Linked DNA regions of Homo sapiens: region 1 is linked to region 2. Evidence: promoter capture Hi-C in 16 types of primary human blood cells and fetal thymus (Javierre and others, 2016). All regions are on one chromosome and are shown on one strand. Each heading gives the region's core, a stretch centred on a gene start or on the middle of the fragment in contact. The rest is flanking DNA. Distances are from core to core; before and after follow the strand shown.

Evidence for each region. Contacts are between HindIII fragments. The CHiCAGO score rates a contact against its expected background, and 5 or more counts as called.
Region 1: a contact is called between a fragment that was not itself captured here and the fragment with the promoter of RIT1 in region 2, in 3 of 17 cell types (megakaryocytes, endothelial precursors and M2 macrophages). The highest score is 9.7, in megakaryocytes.

Annotation. Positions count from the first base shown.
Region 1 is chr1:155,756,935-155,762,643 of GRCh38, reverse strand. It overlaps GON4L (gon-4 like), which reads left to right. Exons shown (of 32, transcript NM_001282860.2): 23 at 270-454; 24 at 2,003-2,200; 25 at 4,610-4,753; 26 at 5,321-5,464; 27 at 5,567-5,686. Among named protein-coding and RNA genes, the nearest start is that of DAP3, 71 kb to the right of the region's middle. The HindIII fragment of the contact is 8,033 bases long and covers 443-5,709 here.
Region 2 is chr1:155,906,337-155,912,813 of GRCh38, reverse strand. RIT1 (Ras like without CAAX 1) reads left to right here and starts at 1,465. Exons shown (of 6, transcript NM_006912.6): 1 at 1,465-1,571; 2 at 2,010-2,158; 3 at 2,308-2,364. The coding sequence starts at 2,053. The HindIII fragment of the contact is 5,298 bases long and covers 1-4,226 here.

The DNA.
Region 1 (5,709 bases), core at 3,210-5,709, 150 kb after region 2:
CTACAGAAGCCACACTTGCTCTTTAGACTTCCTTTCTCAATATGAAGTAGCTGATTATCTTGTTGTCATCCCAATTAAGGCAGTTACACTGCAGACTCTGCGTAGAACTGACTTGACGGACTTAGTTCTCATACCATTTTCCCAAAAACCTTTTCCTTGAATTGCTCCATAATATTGAATAGGATTTGGCTGGGGTGGTGCATGTGGTGGAATGGGAAGAACACAGGTTGCAGGGACAGGGAAACAATCCTTTTCATGTGTGCTACAAGGAGAGAGCATCAAAGCTGCTGGAAAAGGCCGGAACAATCATCGAGCTCGCAACAAGCGGGGAAGTCGGGCTCGGGCCAGCAAGGACACCTCCAAGCTGCTGTTGCTGTATGATGAGGACATTCTCGAGCGAGATCCACTCAGGGAGCAGAAGGACTTGGCCTTTGCCCAAGCTTATCTGACCAGGGTAGGCAAATGCTGCTTCCTGTTATTGCCAGTCTCTATGAATGTGGCTGCTTCTTCAAGGGAGATGTTTTTCAACATAAAGTCTGTTTTTCAGGCTATGCAACAGGCTTCATATTCCTCTATCTTGGCTTTTCTGGCAAAAGATCTCTGTGACAGAACCACAAGGAGACATAGAATTCAATCATAAGTATGTTTATTGTTAGTACCCTGCCATCATCCTTCTGTTGACCAGAGATTGGCAGAAAGATGATACCACCATCATCAGTGGGAGGTTGTGACTTTACTGGGTGCGCTGATAAGGACCTTTATAGAACCTTTGGCTTGAGAAGAAAGATAGTGGGTACACTGGCCAGCAAGTGGATTTCAGGAAAATACATTGCTCTTAAGACATGAACCAGCTGGGCGTGGTGGCTGACACCTATAATCCCAGCACTTTGGGAGGCCGAGGTGGGTGGATCACCTGAGGTCAGGAGTTAGAGACCAGCCTGACCAACATGGTGAAACCCTGTCTCTACTAAAATACAAAAATTAGCCGGGTGTGGTGGTGGGCGCCTGTAATCCTAGCTACGGGGGAGGCTGAGGCACAAGAATCACTTGAACCTGGGAGACGGAGTTTGCAGTGAGCCGAGATCGCACCACTGCACTCCAGCCTTGGTGACAGGGCGACACTCTGTCTCAAAAAAAAAAAAAAAATGAACCAGGCTGGGCGCTGTGGCCCTTGCATATAATGCCAGCACTTTGGGAGGCTGGGGTAGGAGGATCCTTGAGTCCAGGAGTTCAAGACAAGACAAGCCTGGGCAACACAGGAGACCTCCATCTCTACAAAAATAAAAAAAAAATAGTGAGCTAAGCATGGTGGTGCATGCCTGTGGTCCTAGGTACTTTGGGAGTCTGAGGTGGGAGGATCACTTGGGCCCAGGTGGTTGAGACTGCAGTGAGCCATGATTGCATCAGTGCACTCCATCCTGGGCAACAGAATGAGACCCTGTCTCAAAAAAAAAAAAAAAAAAAAAAACCACACATAAGCTAACCACTTCTTGGTAGTGTCCTGGAGAACTGTGTCCTTCTCTTGGTAACCACCTGATTCCTTTATCCCCCTGGAAAGCAGAATACTGGCAATGATAGTCATAGCTTTTTCTTATCTCCTAATGTTTTACTGACATTCCTAACTTATGTATTATTTACTCTCAAATTACGCCCATGCTGAAATACATGTACAAACACATGTTACCTATTTCATTATGGGGCTGTAATCAGTAAGGAAAGGTTAGGGCTGTGACCTAGAGAAAAGCATTGCTTGGTTTTGTGGGTAGAACTGTGGAACGTGGAAGATGATTTTTCACTTGCTCACTCCCAGAAAAAGATCTTTACCTTGCCTATTGCTCTGTGTCTTCCATTAACAGTCAGATGTTAAGATCTGTTGGAGGCACAGCCTCTGATGGATAATTCTTGGAGCTCTCTAACCATAACCCTGCCTTCTCCCTTGTACCCTTATTGCTTGTTGTGGCCCAAATAAAGGGTGTTGATGATTGAAAGTCTTCCCGTGTAGGTGCGAGAAGCCCTACAACATATCCCTGGCAAGTATGAAGACTTCCTTCAAGTCATCTATGAATTTGAGTCAAGTACCCAGAGACGGACGGCTGTAGATCTCTACAAAAGCCTGCAAATTCTGCTCCAAGACTGGCCTCAGCTGTTGAAAGACTTTGCTGCTTTCCTGTTACCTGAGCAAGCTCTGGCCTGTGGATTAGTAAGTGAATGGGGAAAAAAAGTACACTGGGACTCCTGGGTCAGAGTGAGACTGGGATTGAATGGGGTTGAATAAGACTCTTTCAGTCTCCCAGCTCCTTCCAGACACACAGCCATCCCCTAGCCCAGAGTGATAAAAGCCTCTGTCTTTTCAGGGTATTATCTTTCCAATCCCATTCTCCCATTTTCTTTACATGATAAATGAGAGGGTTTTACCTATAGTTGCCAAAGGACACCTTAGGTGAGTCATATGCTCTCTGCTTCTCACTGGTATCAAGCCAGACATTCATTTAACAAATATTTGTTAGGTGCCTCCTAACTGTCAGGAATTCCTAGCAATTCCTGACCTCAATTGCTAGGAATATAGTAATTACAAAAGACTAAAATTCCTGCCCTCGTGGAGCTTACGTTATCATGAGGAAATTCAGATGATACTCCAGAAAACATATATATATATATATCATATATATATATATATAATATATAAAATATAAATTATAAAAATAAATATAAACAGCAAAATATATAGTATACAATGTTTTATAGTGATCATGTTTTACAGAAAAATAAAGCAGGAAAGGAAACTAGAGGGGTGGTTTTATACACAGCGGTCTGGGAAGGCCACTGTGGTATGGTAACGTGAAATGTTGCAGAATAGGAGGCTAAACATGAGGGATATCCCAGTAGTCCTGGACTTATCGTCATAAAAATAGGAACAAAGGGAGGAACGGGATTATTCTAAGAGTTTTATTGGGGTTAAATGACAGTGGGGTAGTTCTGCATATAATGTGTGATGCCCATTTTCTCTTCTGGTATTATGAGGTTCCAATCAGTGTATACGTGAACAAAAAAAAAAATTTTTTTTTTTTTGAGATGGAGTTTCACTCTTGTTGCCCAGGCTGGAGTGCAGTGGCGTGATCTCGGCTCACTGCAACCTCCGCCTCCTGGGTTCAAGCGATTTTCCTGCCTCAGCCTCCCGAGTAGCCGGGATTACAGGCATGCGCCACCACCACGCCTGGCTAATTTTGTATTTTTAGTAAAGACGGGGTTTCTCCATGTTGGTCAGGCTGGTCTCGAACTCCAGACCTCAGGTGATCTGCCCACCTCGACCTCCCAAATTGCTGGGATTACAGGTGTGAGCCACCACACTTGGCCAAAAAATTTTTTTAAAGAGATAATGTCAGCCAGGTATGGTGGCTCACACCTGTTATCCCAGCACTTTGGGAGGCCAGCCTGGACAACATAGCAAGACCCCATCTTTACATAAAATAAAAAAATTAACTAACTGGGTGTGGTGGTGCACACCTTTGGTCCCAGCTATTTGGGTGGCTGAGGTGGGAGGACCACTTGAGCCTGAGAGGTTGAGGCTTCACTCAGCCATGATTGCTCCACTACACTCCAGTTTGGGTGACAAGAGCAAGACCTTGTCTCAAAAACAAAAAAGAGAGAGACAATGGCCAGACACAGTGGCTGGCATCTGTAATCCCAGCACTTTGGGAGGCTAAGGTGGGAGGATCCCTTGTAGCCAGGAGTTTTGTTGTTGTTGTTTTATTGTTGTTGTTTTTTGAGGCAAAGTCTGACTCTGTCACCCAGGCTGGAGTGCAGTGGTGTGATCTCTGCTTACTGCAACCTCTGCCTCCCAGGTTCAAGTGATTCTCCTGCCTCAGCCTTCCGGGTAGCAGGGATTACAGGCATGCATGACCGCACCTATCTAATTTATGTATTTTTAGTAGAGATGGGGTTTCACCATGTTGGTCAGGCTGGTCTCGAACTCTTGACCTCAGGTGATTTGCCTACCTCGGCTTCCCGAAGTGCTGGGATTACAGGCATCAGCCACCACAGCTGGCCTGTAGACAGGAGTTTGAGATGAGCCTGGACAACACAGGCCCCTGGGATCCTCCTGCCTCAGCCTCCCAAGTAGCTCAAGCTACAGGTGTACACCACGGCCCCTGCCTAATTTTTAAATTTTTTTGTAGAGACATAGTCTCAGTATGTTGCTGTTCTTGAACTCCTGGCCTTAAGCGATCCTCCTGCCTTGGCCTCCCAACATGGGATTACAGCTATGAGCCACCTTGTGCAGCCTGAAAGTTCTTTGTAATATAAACTCTAAAGTATCATATGAATTTTGGTGGCTGATTTCACAATCCTTAAAACAGCAAACAACTTGAAATATATACATCTCTTGAAGCTGTTGCTCACATCTTAATTGCTTTGGGTGGCTACCCACCAGTGGCCCAAGGTGGATGGAGGTTAGGGTTTTAAATTAGATCTCAATAGTTGTAAACTAGAATTTTAAACCAGGGTTCTGTCATCTCTTGTGTCCTAGTCCACTAGTTCTTATCCTTAGAACCCTCAAGTCCTGCTCTAGCTGTATCATGACTCCTCTTTTGCCCACTTTCCACTCTGGTAGTTTGAGGAGCAGCAGGCTTTTGAGAAGAGCCGCAAGTTCCTTCGGCAGCTGGAGATTTGCTTTGCAGAGAACCCCTCACACCACCAGAAGATTATCAAGGTCCTCCAAGGCTGTGCAGACTGCCTTCCCCAGGAGATCACCGAGGTATTCTTTCCTGTCCTGCTTTCTTCCTGTTGTCTTCCGGGCCTTAGGCCTTTCCCTTGTCTCTTTCCCCAACCTACTCCATACCTTTTTGCCTCTGGAGGCTCATGGGCTTCCTGGAGGAGATGAAAAAGGCAAGGACTTTTCAGGCTCACCCAAAGCATAAAGCACTGGGATAGGGAGGGATTGCTACCTGAAACCGGAGCCTGTCTGATCTTCACAGGCTCAGGAATGCCATGGATGTGCTGGAAGGGATGTTCAGCGAAGGAGGTTCTGGGACCTGGGAGGGGCCTTACCTCCTTGCTCTGCTTGGAATAGTGCCCTAGCTGGAGATCAGTAGGGTGGAGTGGAGAGTGGAATCATTAGGAATCAAATCCAGTATTAGTACCCTTCCCCTATAGGCAGCTAAGGAGGAAGAGAAAGTTTTAGTATTCTTTGTTACCAGGCAGAGTCTCTGTGTGTTTCCCAGTTGACTGGGAAAGCAGAACATGGAAGTATGTGGGATTGATTGGGAAGGGCAGCCTAGAGAGGCTCTGGAGACTTCCTCTTTCCCTCTGTGACTCTCCTCAGCTCAAGACACAGATGTGGCAGCTCCTCAAGGGCCACGACCACCTGCAGGATGAGTTTTCTATCTTCTTTGACCACTTGCGCCCAGCAGCTAGCCGGATGGGTGACTTTGAAGAGATCAATTGGACTGAGGAAAAGGAGTATGAGGTATAGGACCTAAGGCTGCTGTAGCCTTATGAAGGGGGAAGGCCACACGTGGGAGGGATATTGGCCTGGTGTCTGTGCTCAGCAGCACCAACTCCTTCTCAGTTTGATGGCTTTGAAGAAGTGGCCCTGCCTGATGTGGAAGAAGAGGAGGAGCCTCCCAAGATACCCACAGCCTCAAAGAACAAGAGGAAAAAAGAGATCGGGGTCCAAAATCATGATAAGGTATTTTCTTTGTTTATTTGTTT
Region 2 (6,477 bases), core at 216-2,715:
CCTTTATTTAACAGCGTATTAAAAGGACTTCATGAATGAAGCGGGTTTTAAAGGAAATATGTTATTCTTGGAAAGACATTTTATTTTTTTTTGAGATGGAGTCTCGCTCTGTCACCCAGGCTGGAGTGGAATGGTGCAATCCTGGCTCACCGCAACCTCCTGGGTTCAAGTGGTTCTCCAGCCTCAGCCTCCTGAGTAGCTGGGATTATAGGCACCTACCACCATGCCCAACTAATTTTTATATTTTTAGTAGAGACAGGGAGTCACCATTTTGGCCAGGCTGGTCTTGAACTCCTGATCCTCAAGTGATCAGCCCACTTCAGCCTCCCAAAGTCCTGGGATTACAGGCGTGAGCCAGCACTCCTGGCCAGAAAGACTTAAATTTTGAGACGGAGTTTTGCTCTGTTGCCAGGCTGGAGTGCAGTGGCACCCTCTCAGCCAGCTAACTGCAACCTCCACCTCCCAGGTTCAAGTGATTCTCCTGCCTCAGCCTCCCGAGTAGCTGGGACTTATAGGCGCATGCCACCACACCCAGCTAATTCTTTTGTATTTTTAGTAGAGACGGTTTTACATGTTGGCCAGGATGGTCTCTTATTTCTTGACCTCATGACTCACCTGCCTCGGCCTCCCAGAGTGCTGGGATTACAGGTGTGAGCCACCGCGCCCGCCCGGCCCAGAAAGACATTTAAAAAGAACAGTGGTAGGCAGAGCTGCATGAGAACAATTTTCGTGTCAGTTTCTTCTAGCACCTGTGCTACGTAAATAGAGGGGAATATGGTTATAGTGGCTGCGCTTCAGTTCTGTATTTAACTCAAGGCCTCTGTTAACTCAGAGCTCTCTTTCCTGCCAGAGTGTGGTACATTTATTTAAAACAAGTTTTTGTGTGTCTTATACGTGTTTAAAATACATACAGAACTCTGATTAGGGAGTGTTGTGAACATCTGGTTTCTGAGAATGAATTTAGGTTTCAATAGCAAAAGTCATTGTGGCCGCTCCTTTAGGAAAGTCATTTTTCTCCTATGAGTAGTCATCCCCGGTAGACTTGACTGAAATCCTGTGTTTTAGGAGGATTTGGGGGGTGCCCCTGTCCTCCCTTCCTCTCATTACATTGGGTCAAATTAGTTTTGGGTTTTTTTTTTTCCCACAAGCAGCAAACAACCCTCGGTAAGTTGTTAATTTAAGTGTCCCTGCATGTCTCTTATCACGTACTCCCTTCCCTTTTGTGTAAATAATTTACTTTCTACTCGTGATTAAATACCCTTGTCTGTGAGTGCATACACCCTAGGTTGGGTAGGTGACCAGAGGACCTTCAGCGGTGGGTCCCGGAACTGGGTTTTAGGGACCTGGGAGGGGCGGGAAGAGGGCGGGGCAGGCTGTGGGCGTCACTGAGTGGCCCCGCCCCTCCTTCCGCGACTCGGGCGCCGGTGGCGCCATCTTACTCGGTTGCGGGAGGGGTCACAGGTCAGTGCCGGAGCCTCCGCGAGTGAAGGAAGACGAAGTGCGTGACCCGACCGGCTGTGGTGTTCCAGTCCCCACTGACCAGTAGGAGCAGCAGGGCGTCGGCTTGTGAGGTAGAGGGGTGGGGAGTCTGGCGGCGGAGCAGCAGCTGGGGGTGGGGAGGGGGTTCGGAGGAGAATGGGGAGGGGGCGGAACCTCTGGGTACCGCAGACGTGAGAGAACCCCTGCGGCCTAAGGGGCCGCATCCCTTTCTTCCCAAAACTTTCTCCTTGTCCCTACTGTGCCGAGACGTAAATTTATTTGTATCTTTTTATTTTTCTCTTTGGAAAAAGTAAAACCTGTGATGTGTCATGTGACTGAACTGTCTAGGAGGGAGGGTGAAGATGGGGGGGTTTCTTAGGGCCACCCGAAAGGGTGCAGTGGTGAGCAAGAGGGACAGGCCAGAGTAAGAGGGACAGGCCAGAATATGTATGGAAAGGTAAGGCACTGGCTTGAGGGCTGTCGCCGTGGTGTCTCCATCCTGGATTAAGCATTTCCTCCTCCTTTTCTAGGTGGCTTTTCCTCGGGGCAACCGAGGAAGGCCCCAAGAGGACAATGGATTCTGGAACTCGCCCAGTTGGTAGCTGCTGTAGCAGCCCCGCTGGGCTCTCACGGGAGTACAAACTAGTGATGCTGGGTGCTGGTGGTGTAGGGAAGAGTGGTAGGTAACATTTTCCATTTGACAGGAAGCATGGATGAAAAGTACTTAAATGACCAGATGGGATACTTGCTATCTTGCAATGTTAATACTTAAAATTCTCTCTGTGGGTCACCTTTGTGAGGATTTGACTTTTATTTCTTCTTTTGAAGCCATGACCATGCAGTTCATCAGCCACCGATTCCCAGAAGATCATGATCCCACCATTGGTAAGCCAGATCATCACTTATGTTTCCAAATATACCCCATAAAAATATCTTAATGAATATCAGTAGTTTCTAACTATTTATATTTTGAGGCTTTTTTGGAGTCTAATTCAGATTTATTTAGAAACAAGGGTATCAGCAGTTGGTAAGCAACTGAATATTTCTTTTTTTTTCAGACTTTATGTCATAAGCCATCTTTAGTCTTTGTCTCTTACTGAACATTAATGGGACAACTCTCTTTGTTGTATTTTTTTATGGTTGTATACAGGCCACTTAACGAAGCCTTTTCTTGCTGTCACTTCTCTAAGGGTATGACTTGAGACTCGCTCTGTAACTGTGAGTCAGCTGGTTTGAACTTCCACAAAAGGAAGCAGAGAAACAAGTAGAGCCAGGCTGCTGAACTCTTACAACCCAGACATGCCAAGCCTGGACATCTTGCACTTGGAGCTCTTGGTTTACTTCCTTATACCTTAAGTTCATTACGTAGTAATGTCTTCTCCCATGTCTGTCTGTTGTTTTTTTTTTTTTTTTGAGATGGAGTCTCGCACTGTCTCCCAGGCTGGAGGGCAATGGTGCGATCTCCGGTCACTGTAACCTCCGCCTCCCGGGTTCAAGCAATTCTCCTGCCTCAGCCTCCTGAGTAGCTGGGATTACAGGCATCTGCCACCACACCCGGCTAATTTTTGTATTTTTAGTAGAGATGGGATTTCACTATGTTGGCCAGGCTGGTCTCAAACTCCTGACCTCAAGTAATCCATCCACCTCAGCCTCGAAAAGTACTGGGATTACAGGCGTGAGCCACTGTGCCTAGCCCTCCGATGTCTTTTATGGTCCTTAACTCTTGTTGCAGAACGCTAATAGAGTAAAAAAGTCATTTTGTTTGCTTTGACTTTTTTATTTTTTAATTGCTAATCTCTACAAAGACTAAGAACATTACTGTCATTCCTAAACCATAAGGAAGCAGGTTTGATTCTAAGGGTTTATATCCTAATATGAAAGAAAAATGGATGTGGGAATGGGAGAGGGCACAGAAAGTCAGCTGTACTGTTATTTTCTTTTTTTGTTTTTTTTTTTGGAGACGGTGTCTCACCCTGTTGCCCGGGCTGGAGTGCGGTGGCACAATCTCGGCTCACTACAAGCTCCACCTCCCAGGTTCATGCCATTCTCCTGCCTCAGCCTCCCGAGTATCTGGGACTACAGGCGCCCGCCACCAAGCCCGGCTAATTTTTTTTTGTATTTTTAGTAGAGATGGGATTTCACCGTGTTAGCCAGGATGGTCTCAATCTCCTGACCTCGTGATCTGCCCACCTCGGACTCCCAAAGTGCTGGGATTACAGGCGTGACCACTGCGCCGGGCCTTATTATTTTCAGTATGTGACACTCTTTGCCATGATCCTAGTTCTCTAGGAAGGATTTCCATTGGGTCAGGCCTCTGCTGCTCTGTTTCCCGCAAAGCCAATAATGTTTTGTGGTGGCCCAGCTTTGATATGGTCATTTCATAGAGCACATGATTCCAGGGATGGGAAAAATAGAAAAAGTCTTGACTTTTTCATGTACTATATCAAATTTAGAACACTGTTCAGAGATTCAGGCCAGGCGCGGTGGCTCATGCCTGTAATCCCAGCACTTTGAGAGGTCGAGGCGGGTGGAGCACCTGAGGTCAGGAGTTCGAGACCAGCCTGGCCAACATGGTGAAACCCCATCTCTACTAAAAATACCAAAACTAGCCGGGCGTGGTGCTGGGTGCCTGTAATCCCAGCTACTGCGGGGGCTGAGGCAGGAGAATTGCTTGAACCTGGGAGGCGGAGGTTGCAGTGAGCCGAGATAGTGCCATCACACTCCAGCCTGGGGGATAAGAGCAAGCTTTTGTCTCAAAAAAAAAAAAAAAAATTGTTCAGAGATTCAAATTATGGCGGGAGTTCTAGGAATAAAATGAATTTAGGGCTTACGCATATGTACTTGAGAACTCCAAAAGCATCTTTTCCTTTCTTTTTTTTTGAGACAGAGTCTGACTCTGTCATCCAGGCTGGAGTGCAGTGGCGCCGTCTTGGCTCACTGCAAGCTCCGCCTCCCGGGTTCACGCCATTCTCCTGCCTCAGCCTCCTGAGTAGCTGGGACTACAGGGGCCCATCACCACGCCCGGCTAATTTTTTGTACCTTTAGTAGAGACAGGGTTTCACTGTGTTAGCCAGGATGGTCTCGATCTCCTGACCTCGTGATCTGTCTGCCTTGGCCTCCCAAAGTGCTGGGATTACAGGCGTGAGCCACCGTGCCCGGCCGCGTCTTTCCCTTTCTTTAAAGTAAAACTCAAATACTCGTCTCCTGTAAGAGTTATCTGTATTTTTTTTTTTGTTTTTTTTTTTTAGATGGAGTCTCACTGTCGCCCAGGCTAGAGTGCAGTGGCATGATCTCGGCTCACTGCAGGCTCCGCCCCCCCGGGGTTCATGCCATTCTCCTGCCTCAGGCTCCAGCGTAGCTGGGACTACAGGCACCCGCCACCTCGCCTGGCTAATTTTTTGTATTTTTAGTAGAGACGGGGTTTCACCGTGTTAGCCAGGATGGTCTCGATCTCCTGACCTTGTGATCCGTCCGCCTCGGCCTCCCAAAGTGCTGGGATTACAGGCGTGAGCCACCGCATCCGGCCAAGTTATCTGTTTTAATCAATTTTCCTCCAGTTAACTACTCTCCTGGCAATATTATCTGATTCAACAGCAAATACTTATGTCTTCTGAGTTTCTATTATGTGCCAAGCACTGCTTACCCTCAGGGTACAGTGGTGATCAAAAAGATGAGGTTTCTGTTCTTGAGTTTCTAATTTAGTGCATTTGATTTCAAGCTCTGGCTGTAAACTCAGAAAAACTTTACATTGTAACTGGTAGAGATATAAAAGCATACAAGGCCGGGTGCGGAGGCTTACGCCTGTAATCCTGAGCCTGCAATCCTGTAATCGAAGCACTTTAGGAGGCCAAGGCACCTGAGGTCAGGAGTTCAAGACCAGCCTGGCCAACATGGTAAAACCCCATCTCTACTGAAAATACAAAAATTAGCTGGGCGTGTTACTGCTGCATGCCTGTAATCCCAGCTACTCAGGAAGCTGAGGTGGGAGAATTCCTTGAACCCAGAAGGCAGAGGTTGCAGTGAGCCGAGATTGCACCACTGCACTCCGCCCTGAGCGACAGAGTGAGACTTTGCCTCAAAAAAAAAAAAAAAAAGCATATGAATGTGTGCATATGTATATATAAATTATATACACAAGCGCATGTGTATGTGTAGCTAAAATATTATGAAACTTTACCTCACTACATCTGGTGCACTCTGATATTTTCTTTTCTTTTCTTTTTTTTTGAGACAGGGTCTCACTCTGTTGCCCATGCTGGAGTGCAGTGTTGTGATCTTGGCTCACTGCAGCCTGGACCTCCTGGGTTCAGGTGATCCTCCCGCCTCACCCTACCAAATACCTGGGACTGCAGGCGTAGGCCACTAAGCCCAGCTAATATTTTTGGATTTTTAGTAGAGATGAGGTCTCGCTCTATTGCCCAGGCTGGTCTCAAACTCCTGAGCGCAAGTGATCCTCCCACCTGGACCTCCCAAAGCACTGAGATTACAGGCGTGAGAGCCACTGTACCTCACCCACTCTGGTATTTTCTTTCTTTTTTTTTCTTTTTTTCTTTTTTTTTTTTTTTTTTTTTTGAGACGGAGAATTTCACTCCTGTTGCCCAGGCTAGAGTCCAGTGGCACAATCTTGGCTCACTGCAACCTCCACCTCCCAGTTCAAGCGATTCTCCTGCCTCAGCCTCCCAAGTAGCTGGGATTACAGGCGCCTGTGACCACATCCAGATAATTTTTGTATTTTTAGTAGAGATGGGGTTTCACCACATTAGCCAGGCTGGTCTTGAACTCCTGACCTCAGGTGATCCACCCGCCTCAGCCTCCCAAAGTGCTGGGATTACAGGCATGAACCACTGTGCCTGGCCTGGTATTTTCTATTTTTATTTAGGTTTCTGCTTGTTTATTTTAATGCTGGTCCCGGCCCATTAAGTAGATTTCACAACTCACTAATCCTAATGAATAATTGAGAAGCATTGATTTAATGAGCTCTTCATCTTTGAGGAAGAG